Regions from separate parts of the Homo sapiens genome. Here all the other regions are linked to region 1. The links are contacts of gene promoters, found by promoter capture Hi-C in blood cells and fetal thymus (Javierre and others, 2016). All regions are on one chromosome and are shown on one strand. Each heading gives the region's core, a stretch centred on a gene start or on the middle of the fragment in contact. The rest is flanking DNA. Distances are from core to core; before and after follow the strand shown. Region 1 holds the start of CHMP1B (charged multivesicular body protein 1B). Region 2 overlaps PPP4R1-AS1 (PPP4R1 antisense RNA 1). Region 3 holds the start of RALBP1 (ralA binding protein 1).

What was found. Contacts are between HindIII fragments. The CHiCAGO score rates a contact against its expected background, and 5 or more counts as called.
Region 2: a fragment that was not itself captured here is called in contact with the fragment with the promoter of CHMP1B in region 1 in 3 of 17 cell types (neutrophils, total CD8 T cells and total CD4 T cells); the score reaches 9.0 in neutrophils.
Region 3: a fragment that was not itself captured here is called in contact with the fragment with the promoter of CHMP1B in region 1 in 1 of 17 cell types (fetal thymus); the score reaches 5.9 in fetal thymus.

What each region holds. Positions count from the first base shown.
Region 1 is chr18:11,849,996-11,852,695 of GRCh38, reverse strand. It overlaps CHMP1B (charged multivesicular body protein 1B), which reads right to left and starts at 1,283. Exons shown (of 1, transcript NM_020412.5): 1 at 1-1,283. The coding sequence starts at 1,184. The coding sequence ends at 585. The region is part of intron 5 of GNAL (G protein subunit alpha L); the gene reads right to left. RefSeq lists a silencer at 572-866 and enhancers at 873-922, 1,191-1,430. The HindIII fragment of the contact is 8,099 bases long and covers 1-2,700 here.
Region 2 is chr18:9,619,358-9,622,057 of GRCh38, reverse strand. PPP4R1-AS1 (PPP4R1 antisense RNA 1) reads right to left here. Exons shown (of 3, transcript NR_110773.1): 3 at 2,695-2,700. Among named protein-coding and RNA genes, the nearest start is that of PPP4R1-AS1, 5.9 kb to the right of the region's middle. The HindIII fragment of the contact is 2,301 bases long and covers 184-2,484 here.
Region 3 is chr18:9,474,847-9,477,546 of GRCh38, reverse strand. It overlaps RALBP1 (ralA binding protein 1), which reads right to left and starts at 2,034. Exons shown (of 10, transcript NM_006788.4): 1 at 1,856-2,034. RefSeq lists enhancers at 1,404-1,463, 1,202-2,070 and a silencer at 1,694-2,103. The HindIII fragment of the contact is 672 bases long and covers 995-1,666 here.

The DNA.
Region 1 (2,700 bases), core at 34-2,533:
ATTATAGGACCACATTTATTAATAATATACGTTATGAGAACAATCATTTGCAGTCTCACTGTGAAGGCAAAAAAAAAAAAAACAAAAACCAAAACCCAAAGGATAAACAGAAATAGCACAGTCCACCGAATACACTGCATGGTGTTTATAACTGTATAACCAAACTAAGTAATCTTTCCCCTCTCTTTAACTTTTATGCACCACCTGCCATTCTAGATACTATCAATCACACTAAATAATAATAAAAACCAACCACCTTCAATCTGATCATTCTGGGCAGGAAACTGAATACAGTTTTGACCAGATCTTCGAGAAAGATTCATATACACGAAATTAACTAGTTCTGTTAAAAGGCTGCTATAAAAATACCATCATTACGAGCTATACAGAACTTTAGAATCCAGCTAAGAGTGCAGAAATACTGAATTTCTTAATTTATGTGGAGGGGGCTGTAAACCCAAAGGTAGAAGGGCATTTCAGCATTCTGGCGTGTTCAGAGTTTCTAGGGTATAGTATCTCTCTAACACACAGAGAGCATTTCAAAGGGTGGCTATGGCCAGGAAACCTCAGAGCGGGTTCTGCCGTCACACTTGATCCCGAAGGCGGGCCAGTCTCTGAGACAGTTCATCCTGCTCCGCCGAAGCCACGCTCGTGCCCACGGAGCCGGTCTGGCCCTGCGGCAGCTCCATGTTGAGGTCGAGGCCCGCCTCATCTGCCATTTCCTGGAGCAGCATATCCACTTGGTTCTGGGGAGTGGTGAGCGTCGTCGTGCTGCTCATCGTGTCTTCCATTTGCTGCGTCTGGACGTCCAGAGTCTCAAACTGGTGCTCGAATTTGTCCATCAAAGCAGAAATCTTCTCCAGATTCATGGTCTTCAATGTCGCATCCATCGACTTAACCACACCAGCCATCGACTTGGTCACCTTGCCCATCGTCACCGCCGTCTGGACCCTGGCAGCCACTGCATCGACTCGCGCACTCATTCTCAAGAAATTCACCGCCTGGTTCTTCTGGCGGATGGCATTTTCGGCGTGTATCCTCGCAACTTCCATGTTGCCCTTCTGAATGGCCTTTTTAATTTTGGCCTTTTCGGCCTTTTCCTCCTTATCGCATTTTTTGGCACTCCTACTCAGTTCTTTGGCCGCGAACTTCAGGTTGAACAGGTGTTTCTCCATGTTAGACATAGTCGGACGGCTCCTTTGGGTCGGCGGCCCGGCTGAGAAGCGCGCCGAAGGCAGAGAAGGTAAGGTAAGTCCGCTCCCGGCCGCCGCTCCTTTGTTTTGGTCCCACTTCCTGTTTCTACTGTGAGCGGCGCAGGTGGTGACGTCAGAGCCCAGCGCCAAAGGCGGAGCCTGCGGGACGGAAGGCGCCGGGGTGGGGCCTGTGGGACGTAAGACGCCAGGGGCTGCGCATGCAGGGGGATTCTGGCTGGACGCTCCGGCGCTGCGGCGGGGAACGCTCGCTTCCTGCGCTGCGTTCTACCCGGTTTTTAAAATTCTAACGCATTAGTCAATTCACAAAAATTAGTGCCCCCACGCACTTTCCTAGTAATAAATCTACCGAAGTAGACAGGATCTGTGGAGACCCGCGTGTAAAATTACCCACGCTCCAAACTTGGCAGGCTTTATAAAGGGTGACTGGCTAGCGGGCTAAAAACCAGCCAAACATCAGCTAGGTCTTCGCACTAACGCTTGCTTTATTAGCATGGGTAATTTCCACTTTCTCAGGGGAACTGGAAACCATGGATACATTAAAAACAAAAACATTAAAACACATTAAAAACAAACGGGTCATTGACGCGTCTCCATCTTTGACTACAATTTGTGCTAGAGTTCTGTAATATCCTTTTATTGCATTGAGTGAAAATAATCTTCAAAACTGTGGCACCACCAAATTTATACTTTGTCTGGAAGTTCAGCTTCTAGGTGAGTTGCCAGCAATTATCCAAAAATCGTCCCGTGGTTTAGTAATAAAAAGACCCATCTTTTGCTGACACCATTCTGTCTTTTTGATGTTTTATAAATATCCAAGGAACTTCACTCACATTTAAGTTTGACAGGCTAAACTGTCATTTTAAATTATGCAGGCAGAGTATGTTGAGATATCAGGACCCACACCCACGGGCATACATCAAAACTGTCACTATGTATTACGCCCTTTAAAAATGCTGGCTTTCAAATGGCAGCAATGTGTGCTGTCACTTTTCTCTTTAGAAAGATTCCTCCGATACAGCAATAACAATGTGAGAAGACCAAATCTGCCCTAATGAGGTAGGCTGAAAATGAACTCTGAGAGCGAATTCTGTTTAGAGATCATTTTAATCTAGCAGCCTGCCACCTCGCTTAGCTTCCTGTGATAGCTTGCCAGTCAGTTTCACAACACAAGACCTTCTGAAGACATAGCTCTGATGTTTTCACTCTCTTGCTCCAAACCCCGGGCATGGAGGCTAAACCTGCTGTGCAGCATGCTGGCTCGTCTTTCGCGCCCCTCCACCTCCGCCAGTCAAAGCAAACCGCAGCATGGAATTTGAGCATTATTTGCGTCATTCGGCCAGCGGGGAGAATGTGACTGACGCCCGGTCCTGTGGCTATGCTGTTCCTGTTGCCTGGATTTTAGTGTCCATGCATCTCTGCCTATTGACACCCTGCCAGTCCTTCAAAAGCCACCTTCACCATGGAGCCTCCCCAGGACTCCTCCTCT
Region 2 (2,700 bases), core at 85-2,584, 2.2 Mb after region 1:
TCACGCCCGGCTAATTTTTTGCATTTTTAGTAGAGACGGGGTTTCACCATGTTAGCCAGGGTGGTTTCAATCTCCTGACCTCGTGATCCGCCCACCTCAGCCTCCCAAAGTGCTGGGATTACAGGCGTGAGCCACCGCGCCCGGCCTAGGCTAAACTTTTTTAAATATAGGACTTTGAAAGCTTTAAAAAATAGGTAAACATAAACTGTTTGGGGGTATTATCTCTAAATTTTTGGAGATTTTAGTTTTTTCTTTATACTTTTCTGGGCACTCCAAAAACATGTATTTTTGTAATTGGAAAATTCAGAAAAGAATAAATGTTACAAAGATGTAGAATTCCGGCCGGCCATGGTGGTTCACACCTGTAATCCCAGCTCTTTGGGAGGCCAAAGTGGGAGGATTGCTTGAACCCAGCAGTTCAAGACTAGCCTGGGCAACAAAGTGAGACCGCATCTCAAAAAAAAAAAAATATGTAGAATTCCACCCCTCCCAACACCTGCCACATACCTACAAGCAGCAGCAACAACAAAACCTCCTAAAAAACCAAGAACATCGTTTGAGGGAGAAGTGAGTTGGCACCTGAGTTCAAGATTGTCTACCTGGATGATTTGTCCGAATAATGAAATGGTGGCAAACTGCAGCCATTCAAGCCAAGGGCAGCTGGTGAGAGGACACTGTTAAGGCACTTGCTTGGGAATTTCACAGAATTGTGATGAACAAAATATTATATGAGAAAGATAATTTTTGTATACTTGGCCAGAATAATTGAAACAGGCTAGTTAAAAAGTTATTAGTATGGTTTTGAAGTGGTTAATATCTTGGTCAGGATATTGAGTGAGAAACGGAGTGAAGAGGTGACTCCTAAAATGTTTCAATGACAAAATCCTCAGGGAACAGTGATAACTTAGATGGAATTAGAGATTATACCAAGACCATACATGTTGAAAGACTAGAAGTTCTCTTAATGCGAAAGAAGTTGACGAAGGACCATTTTGACAGAAAAGCTATGAATGTGAGGATACGCAAACGCTATTGCCATTATTTAGAATCAGGATTCCAGTGTTTGAATACTAATTCCCCTATTTGCTTGCTTGCTTGCTTTCTTTCTTTTCTTTTTTTTTTTTTTTTTTGAGACAGTCTCACTCTGTCACCCAGGCCAGAGTGCAGTGGTGTGATCTCGGCTCACTGCAAACTCCACCTCCTGGGTTCAAGAGATTCTAATGCCTCAGCCTCCCGAGTAGCTGGGATTACAGGCATGTGCCACCACACCCAGCTAACTTTTGTATTTTTAGTAGAGACAGGGTTTCACCATGTTGGCCAGGCTGGTCTCGAACCCCTGGCCTCAAATGATCCACCCACCTCGGCCTCCCAAAGTGCTGGGATTACAGGTGTGAGCCACTGTGCCAGGTCATTTGCTTTTTGATCTTTGTCAAAATACCCAACCTTTCTGAGCTTCGATTTCCTTTATTTTTAAAATGGTAATATCAATTTCTACTTCACAGGGCTGTTTTAAATAATCAGAAAGCACATAAAAGTGCTTAACAGGCTGGACGCGGTGGCTCACACCTGTAATCCCACCACTTTGGGGGGCCGAGGCAGGTGGATCACTTGAGGTCAGGAGTTTGAGACCAGCCTGGCCAACATGGTGAAACCCCGTCTGTACAAAAAAAAAAAAAAAATATATATATATATATACAAAAATTAGCTGAGTATGGTGGTGGGCGCCTGTAGTCCCAGCTACTCAGGAGGCTGAGACAGGAGAATCGCTTGTACCCGGGAGGCGGAGGTTGCAGCAAGCTGAGATTGCAGCAAGCTGAGATTGTGCAACTGCACTCCAGCCTGGGTGATGGAGCGAGATTCCATCTCAGAAAAAAAAAAAAAAAAGAAAAAAAGAAAAAAAAAGAAAAAGCGCTTAACATGATGCCTGGCACACGCTCTGAAAAATGTTTCATATATACGGTAATATTACCATTGGGGGAACTGATGTGAAAGTGACATAGGACATCCTGGCACATCATTTGAAACTTCATGTAAATCTGTAATTGTTTCTAAATAAAAAGTTAGAAAATGTATTAGCTATCTAGTCTGGGAATTATATTGTGTCATTGTGCTAATATTTTTCCCACCAAAGGAAGGAACCAAGGACCAGAGACACAAGCAATTTGTTACAAACAGTTACAGAGAAGTGAAATGAGAATGGAAGTAATTTCTTCTGAATCATATTACCATAGAGCAGCCTTAGTGTGAAGGGAGCTTAGAGTCAGGGCAGTTAACCACTGAACTTATCTGGGTTTGAATATGTGGTTTGCTATGGTTTATTTCCTGGTTCAACTTGACTCATCCATTCAGATTCAGAATAATAAACATTTAAACATTTAAAATAATAAGCATCTAAAATGATAAGCATTTCCTCCACACGTACTCTGTGCCAGGCATTGTGGAAGCCTCTCCCATATTGCTTTGAATGGGATTGCAACTAAAGCTTTCTAAATTCTAAGAGAAAGGCACAAAGGAAATTTACTACTGCCACTCTAATCCATTTAGTGCTCACTGTTTAAACATCTTTGTTTTCTCTTAATGAAATTAAAATGTGTGGAACAAATTGTGTAGGATGTAGTACCTCATCAGTGGGGAATTCTTTTGCCTCTACTAACCTGGAGCACTGGGAAAAGCACGGGAGTAGGGAACATAGTGGATAAG
Region 3 (2,700 bases), core at 81-2,580, 2.4 Mb after region 1:
TCTAAATAATCTGCATTTTTCCTTGTACCCTCTTATACAAACTAACATAAGTTTCTATCAGGGATCTTTCAAAACAGAAACAATATTCTTTTGGGTTACATGCTGGGCCCGATCTCTTCTTGCCAAGCAAACAACTATGCAAATATAACTGTACAAATTAAAGTTATTATGCACTTTCTGATACCACTTTCCTATTCTAAATTAGGGGAGAAATAGTCTGGATAAGATCCATAATTAGAAACAATATCCTGAAGAGAAAGCAAACTAAGTTGTATTACATTGTTTCGAGATACCTTGTTTAAAGAGTCACTTCTCAAAAGCTACTACTGTTGGCAGGGCGCGGTGGCACACGCCTGTAATCCCAGCGCTTTGGGAGGCCTAGGCGGGCAGATCACCTGAGGTCGGGAGTTCAAGACCAGCCTGACCAACATGGAGAAAATGTCTCTACTAAAAATATAAAATTAGCCGGGCGTGATGGCGCATGCCTGTAATCCCCTCAGGAGGCTGAGGCAGCAGAATCGTTTGAACCCAGGAGGCAGAGGCTGTGGTGAGCTGAGATCATGCCATTGCACTCCAACCTGGGCAACAAGAGCGAAACTCTGTCTCAAAAAATAAAAAACTAAAAAAAAAAAAAAAAAGCTACTGTTAACTAACCTACCCCACTTGGATCTACCAGATACTTTGAATGAGAGGTGGAAACCACTCTACTGACCTCCTTCCTACCCCTACTACCGCCACTCCAGCTTACAGTAATTATTTTCACAAAGACAGAAAGGAGTTATCAAATGACCACAATAACTCTAAAAACAGAAAGTGAGGTGATCTTTCTTATTCACAGTCCCACTTATTCATTTAGAAATGCTGAGCACCAAAACAAAACCTTATCACAAGTTCAGTATTTCGTTAATAACTGCCAAGTATAATGGAATACTCCCCAAAGTACTGCAGCATTAGAACATGACCACTCCACTAAATTAAAAATTCAGCGAAAGCTTTTCTAACAAGGCTGGATGGAGCACTAACTCAACGGCCAAACGGCTGCACTTCCTGTATATGCACGTTCAAAACACCTCGAATTAACATGCTAGGGACCTTGAAGAATTGTACTAGGCCTTGCTCAAGAGGAAGGCTTTGTAATACTGAATCCCAAAACTTGAAACAGCAGAATTACTTCAGGGAAGACGGAGGTGTTAAATATTCTGTAAAACCTGTTTCACTCTCACAACGATCAGTTTTAAAAAAAAGAGGGAGAACACTGACCTCATTAAGAGCATTCTGACAACACACATAGTTGAACATGAGTTGTGAAAAGAATTTTCAACTTCAGATCTGTCTGTCCATTCCCACTGAAACCTGAAGGAAGGATCGCAGCACCCAAAGGCGCCCACTGCTCAGTGCCAGCGGTGGGCGACACCAGGAGCCTGTCCTGGTCCCCTGGGTAAGCCCTGGAGCCTGGCCACTATGCCGGGCACGATCCACCAACCGTGAGGGCTGGGTCCCCTAGCCTCTGTCCAGGCGCCCCCCAAGAGCTTCCCCGAGGCCTGGGGACTCCTAACTCTCCACCCCCGGCCCCCGAGAGCACCACAAACGAGGACGCCACGAAGGGAGGCCCGTCGGCCAGTGGGAGGGACGCACGGCCAAGGGGGGCGAAAACTGGGGCGAAGCTTTCCGGGGAGGAACCCACGCCAGGGGCAGCCACGCCCCCCACCCCCAACTTCAAACCCGAGCGCTGCGAGCACCGAGCCCCACACGCTGCCTGACAGACGCGGGCGCGAGGCCGGCGCGGGAGAGGGTTCCTCGGGCACTCCAGGGGTATCGCCGCGACCCTAGCACGCGACCGCTCCCTGCGACTGACCTGTGCCTGCCGCCGCGCGACCGTCCGCCCCGCCGCAGCCTCCGCCTCCTCGCGCTCACGCTGCCGCCGCAGCCACCGGAGCCGCCTCCTGCGCTGCGCCCCAGGCCGGCCTCGGGCGCCCCATTCCCACCCCGCCCAGCCTCTGCCTGTTTACAATGATTGGGACGGAACGGGACGAGGCGGTCCAGCGCGCACGCGCATTCCCTCCTCCCGCCGCAGCCGGCTTCCCGGATCCTCCTCTCCGCTCAGACGGCTGAAGCCGTCAAGGGCAGGCGACCTGGGCTCTCGCGCGGGGCGCGCTGGGAGGCGTAGTTCCCAAGGCCCCGGCGTCCAGCCAGCCCGAAGGCCTCTCGCCAAGGAAGCAAACTACAACACCCAGGAGGCACCGCGCCCCCTTCGTCCCCAGGCTCGCTGAGGAGACTGAAGAAGAGCGCGAGAGAACGCGCCGAGGGCCAGTGCTCTGCAGGCGCCTGCGCAGTCGGTGGCCTTGCGGGTTTCGGGGACGGACGGCTTACCCCGGTGTGGTGCTGGCGAAGGTGGCTCGCGGGCATCTCCTGCAACGGCCTTGAGGATGGAAAGGGCTTTCCTCTCCACGCTCTGGCCAGCCTGCGCCTCAGCTCCCGAAGTTGAGAGCTTTCCTTGCGCCAGCGTGCTTTAGTCGTTCCAACCAGTTAAACCAGACTGGGGGCCGCCCGGCTGGCCGCTGGGTGGGGCGGCTGCCCCGCCTTCGACTGGGTGTGGGATTGGAGGAAAGAGCGCCGTGGGCCTGTAGGGATAGGCGGGAATAAACCTCTGTCGGGAACATCCACGGAATTCCTGAAGCGGGTGTGGGCTTCTGCAGGGCT